Linked DNA regions of Homo sapiens: region 2 is linked to region 1. Evidence: promoter capture Hi-C in human tissues and cell types (Jung and others, 2019). All regions are on one chromosome and are shown on one strand. Each heading gives the region's core, a stretch centred on a gene start or on the middle of the fragment in contact. The rest is flanking DNA. Distances are from core to core; before and after follow the strand shown. Region 1 holds the start of PSMA8 (proteasome 20S subunit alpha 8). Region 2 has its middle 54 kb from the start of LINC01915.

Region 1 (2,715 bases), core at 71-2,570:
AATCACTAAAATTATTGAACGTAGTTAAAACTTGGCAGCAGTATTACTCCTACCCTGAGTATTTTTTAAGTTTTTCAGTAATGTGGATACATAAATCTAAGGTAGGGTGTAATCTCTCAAGGAACTTCCAGCATTATTTTTTAAGTGGCCAAAAAAGTGGAAGTTCTTGGACTTTTGAGCCTCTACAAGGCTGGGAAATATTGGGACAATTTTGGGATTTTTTTTTTTTTTCCCGAGACGGAGTTTCGCTTTTGTTGCCCAGGCTGGAGTGCAATGGCACGATCTCGGCTCACCGCAACCTCTGCCTCCCAGGTTCAAGCGATTCTCCCGCCTCAGCCTCCCGAGTAGCTGGGATTACAGGCATGCGCCACCACGCCTGGCTAATTTTGTATTTTTAGTAGAGACGGAGTTTCTCCATGTTGGTCAGGCTGGTCTCAAACTCCCGACCTCAGGTGATCCGCCCTCCTGGGCCTTCCAAAGTGCTGGGATTACAGGTGTGAGCCACTGCGCCCAGCAATTTTGGGATATTTTTAACGCGTGTGTTTGAACTGTGTTTTTAATCATTTCTTCATCAACAAAAGTTTAATTTTATATTGATTTAGTCCGTATTTGGGGAGCAGGTGTGGCCAACTTTTATTTTTTATTGTAACTGTTATTAAAAAACAGTTCCCAACATGAAGCAACTGTTAACTTTTCCAGGGGTCTCTGAACTACCAAGGAACTGGACCACGAGCGTTCAATAGGTAGGCTGTTACAGATTAGAAGCTTTCCCTATTGTCAATCACATCATTAACGTCCCTACACACACACACACACACACAGAGACACACACACACACACACACACACCCACACACACACCCTAGTTTTGCGTCTGTAGCTACCATGAAACAGAGGCAGTTGAACAGCAGAGATAGGGGAAATCTACTAACTTTTACTCTGCCCACTTCCGGCCCAAATCTAGAAGTCTGTCTCCCTAAATAAAAAGAACAAAGTAATTTTCACAAGTGTGGGAATCTCCTCTCTTGAGCTCCTAGGATGGAAAGGTGGGCTGGGGCAGCAGGGTAACGATGGCCTGACAGGTCAGAGCGGGGAATAGTCCGGTAATAGTTGCTTCCTCACCGCGGTGGATCCTTTCTTCACCGCTTCCTGGGCATATTCAACTTGAAAAAGGTGTCCGTCTGGGGAGAAGACAGTGATCGCCCTGTCATATCGAGACGCCATCGCACAGGACTACAAGGGCTTGCCACCGAGCTTCCCGCTGCTGCAGCTGAGGCAAGCGGGGAGCCGCCGCCAACACAGCGTGCTACCGCCCGGAAGCGCTTCCACACGCGCCTCAAGCTGCCTCCCGGAAGTCCCCGCGCCCGCGCTTCGGCTGCTTCACGGAAGTCCTTGCTCCTTTGGCTGCCTGCGGATGTCCTCGCGCTTGCCAGCCTTTGTCACCCAAGCAGTGCCTGTGAGTTGACGGCATTCTTCCCTTACCCTTCATGTCTGACGCATAGCGCATATCTCCATTTCCCCACTACCGTGTTGCCCCAGGGATGGTGTCACGGCACTCGAGTTATAAAAATAATATCAAAGATTAGGGCTTAAAAATGAGGTCTTCAAATATCAGATATTTTTGTTATCGCATACATGTTGGAGAAACTGTGGTAAGTTAAATATCAGTCCCTTCCCTTTGGTTTCAAATTCTAAATTTCCTACTTTTTCTTTCTCTCTCTCAGGTTAACTCTTGTTATTTGAACCGAAGGAAAGAAAGCAAACTTCAAAATATTGTTGCTTCTGATATTTTCTGCCTTGTGAGCAAAATAGAGCAGATGAGCAAATGGTCCGTTAAATAAAGCAAATAGTCCATCAAACTAAGCTAATGATGAGAATTAAGATAATGTTCTTTTTTTTGTTTTGTTTTGTTTTTTGTTTTTTGAGACGGAGTCTCGCTCTGTCGCCCAGGCTGGAGTGCAGTGGTGCAATCTCGGCTCACTGCAAGCTCCACCTCCCGGGTTCACGCCATTCTCCTGCCTCAGCCTCCGGAGCAGCTGGGACTACAGGCGCCCGCCACCACGCCCGGCTAATTTTTTATATTTTTAGTAGAGACTGGGTTTCACCGTGTTAGCCAGGATGGTCTTGATCTCCTGACCTCGTGATCCGCCTGCCTCGGCCTCCCAAAGTGCTGGGATTACAGGCGTGAGCCACCGCGCCCGGCCCAGATAATATTCTTTTAATTGGAGAAATTTTGTAAAAGCCCAAAGTATGAGACTTAAAAGATGTCTGGAAATTTAGCTATAGCAGAAACTCTTTACAACTTGCTACATTACTAACTATGAAACAACTCTGTCGCTTTCTCCTTATCAATAAAATGGGAATATTAAAAAATCTGCAGCAGAGTATTCTGAGCTTAATATGTGTTTATGGGCATAATTACATAAAATGGTGCCTGGTGGGCAGTAATAGCCAGGTAAGTTTAGCTATTATTGCTTTCCATGTGTTGTTTAATATATGCAGTTTTCCACTGGGGAGGATCTTAAAGTTGGTGAAATCAACTTTAACCAAAAAAAAGAAAAAAAGAATAATTTCCTCAAAAGAGGAAAAATTTGATTCCCTGAATTCCAAATACTTAAATCAGAATTTTAATTGACTTAAACAATTTATTTAATTATTAATACTTTTTTTTTTAACGTAGGGACTTGGTTTCCCTATGTTGCCCAGGCTGGTCTCA
Region 2 (2,715 bases), core at 92-2,591, 1.5 Mb after region 1:
GACTGTAATTAACATTCATCAATTGTACATCTCAAAATAGCCAGAAAAGGATAATTTGAATGTTCCTAACAAAGAAAATGTCACTATTTAAGGTGATGGCTATCCCAATTACCCTGATCTGATTAAATGAATGTATCAAATAATCAAAGGTACAGAAAATATGTACATCTAATATATATCAATATAAATAAATAAAAATATCCCATGGCATAAAAACAAGAAAACTTCACAAATCATTTTACAAAGCCAGCATAATCCTTATATGGAAACTCAAGATAAATATCACAAAAGGGAGGCAGGAGAATCACTTGAACCCGGGAGACGGAGGTTGCAGTGAGCTGAGACTGCACCACTGCACTCCAGCCTGGGTGACAAAGCAAGACTCCACCTCAACAAAATCACAAAAGGGAACATTACAGCCGTACCTGTTCAATAAGCAACCATCTAGAACCTTCCCTTGGTGCTCCCTGCCTTTGTCCCTCACTGCACTGCTCACTCCACACTAGCAAGGTGAGCACCACTCATTGTTTGCACGGTGCTTGACACATAGTAGGCCCTCTACAGACCTATCAAACTCTGTAACCATGTGAATGAGTGGTTTACTCCTGGGGTTAAGAGTTCAGCAGGTCAGTGGCTGAGCCCAGATTGATAACCTCATTTTCTAGTCCTCAGCACCTTTCACAACAAAACAGCCAAAGACAGCAGCCTGCTTGACAATATTCATTCTGCAAAGTTTTTCATAAATGCGGCTTACTAAGATCTCAGAGAATTCTTTTGAGATAAACTCAGGCTACAGGGGACATTTGGTAAGAAGCAATGCTTACTGTGTTATTGAGAGGATATGTAATCATCTCTGGCACACAACACAGGTTGAGAGAAACTGCAGTTTTCCCTCACCACAAAAACCTTTCTGAGTGCTCTGGGAACTGACCCTACTGTGTTCTCTGAGGCCAGGAAAAAACATCTCTCCAAAGTCACATTTCCTTGCACCCTGCAGATGTTACACTTCCTAAGAGTTGGACAGTCAAACAAAAGGATCTAAATATATTTCCCCTATTTTTTTTATTGGTACATGATAGATGCATACATTTTGGGGGTACATGTGATAACTTAATACATTCATACAATTTGTTAAGATAAAATCAGTGTAATTGATATATCTACCACCTTAAATATTTGTCTTTTCTTTATGCTAGAAACATTTGAATTATTCTCTTCTATCTATTTTAAAATATACAATGGAGTATTGCAAACTATGGCCACCCTACTGACCTATTTAACACTAGATCTTAATTCTCTCTATTCTTAACTGGTAAAGTGATAAGCTACTCCTTGGGTCATCAAGCCACCTTCCTCTAGGGTCATGCTTTGAGTTACTCATCCATTTGTGCCTTTCCTACAATATCAACTTTATATTAACAAAGAGTCCCAGTACATGTGATAAGACGGGAAAGACGGTCCACAACCCATGACATAGGAACACAGATGTGATCTCCTCTCACCTCAACCTTCCAAAGCTCACCAATTTCAACAAGACAAACTTCTAACTCATTGGCTAAGGAGTGAGTATCCAAAAAAACTGGCATAATCAGACCACAGGCTACCTTTCCAATCCCATCTTCCCTCATTCTCGCTATGCCCCGGCCTCATACCTTGTAGTTTCCCAAGCTCAGGGACTTTCATTCTCAGTACTCCCTCTAGTAGGATGACTCTGAAAAACTTCCCTTCCTGCCGAGCTCCTACTCACCCTCCCAGGCCAAGGCCTGATATCATTCTCACTAGGAAATCTTCTACCAAGCCGGAAATAATCACTCATGTGTCTCAGGAAACCATCATGGCATAGGGTTGAATTATAATTACCTGAACACGACTTTTCTCCGCGTAATAAATTATAAGCTTTTTGAGGGCAGGGACCATGACATATTTGTTCTTGCATCCACAGTGCCTAGCACGGCAATGCAGGAGTTCCTTATATTTTCGTCAAATGACCTTGTTGAGTGCCTACTAGTTGCCTGACACAAAACGGTTGTAATCTGATGTAAAACTTAGAGTAATCAGAAGAACTAACAAGACCACCTTATAACAATGGGAAAATGGCACTCATGAGGAGAAAAATTGAGGGCAATGCCTTCTGAGACCGGCAAGAAGAGACGATTCCCAGATCAAGTGCGAAGCCTGAGAAATGTAGTCCTGGATCTCGTTGAGAACATTTCTTTCTGCCCTGATTCTCTGATTCATTAGTCGATTTGGTTTCCAAAGTAAACTTTCCTTCAGGGGAAATGGTGGGTGGTACGAGCCAATTCTTTTGATTACCTAGTGCTGTGTAACAAACTACCCCAAAACACAGAAGCTTAGAAAATAACTATTTTACTTGCCCACAATTCTGTGGGACAGAAATTCAGACAAGGATAGGCTGAATAGTCCTGCTCCCTGCAGCATTGGCTGGTGGCCCAACTGGGCTAGAAGTTCCAACAAGGCTTCATGTACCTGCCTGACACCTCAGTGTTCCCTGGTGGCCAGTTTCTCTCTCACTCTCTCCACACAGCTAGCTTGGGCTTCCTCACAGCATACTAATCTCAGGCTAATCACACATCTTGCATGGATGCTGGCTTCCAAGAGGGCATGTCCCAAGCAGTAAAAATGGAAGCTGCAGCTCTCTTGAGGCCCCAGCCTCAGAAGACTGGCAGAGACTTCTACCACATTCTACAGGTCAAA

Evidence for each region. Contacts are between HindIII fragments. The study calls those that stand out against the background at their distance.
Region 2: a contact is called between a fragment that was not itself captured here and the fragment with the promoter of PSMA8 in region 1, in 1 of the 25 tissues and cell types used here (dorsolateral prefrontal cortex).

Annotation. Positions count from the first base shown.
Region 1 is chr18:26,132,474-26,135,188 of GRCh38, reverse strand. PSMA8 (proteasome 20S subunit alpha 8) reads right to left here and starts at 1,320. Exons shown (of 7, transcript NM_001025096.2): 1 at 1,122-1,320. The coding sequence starts at 1,223. The HindIII fragment of the contact is 10,391 bases long and covers 1-2,715 here.
Region 2 is chr18:24,680,451-24,683,165 of GRCh38, reverse strand. No RefSeq gene overlaps it. Among named protein-coding and RNA genes, the nearest start is that of LINC01915, 54 kb to the right of the region's middle. The HindIII fragment of the contact is 5,054 bases long and covers 1-2,715 here.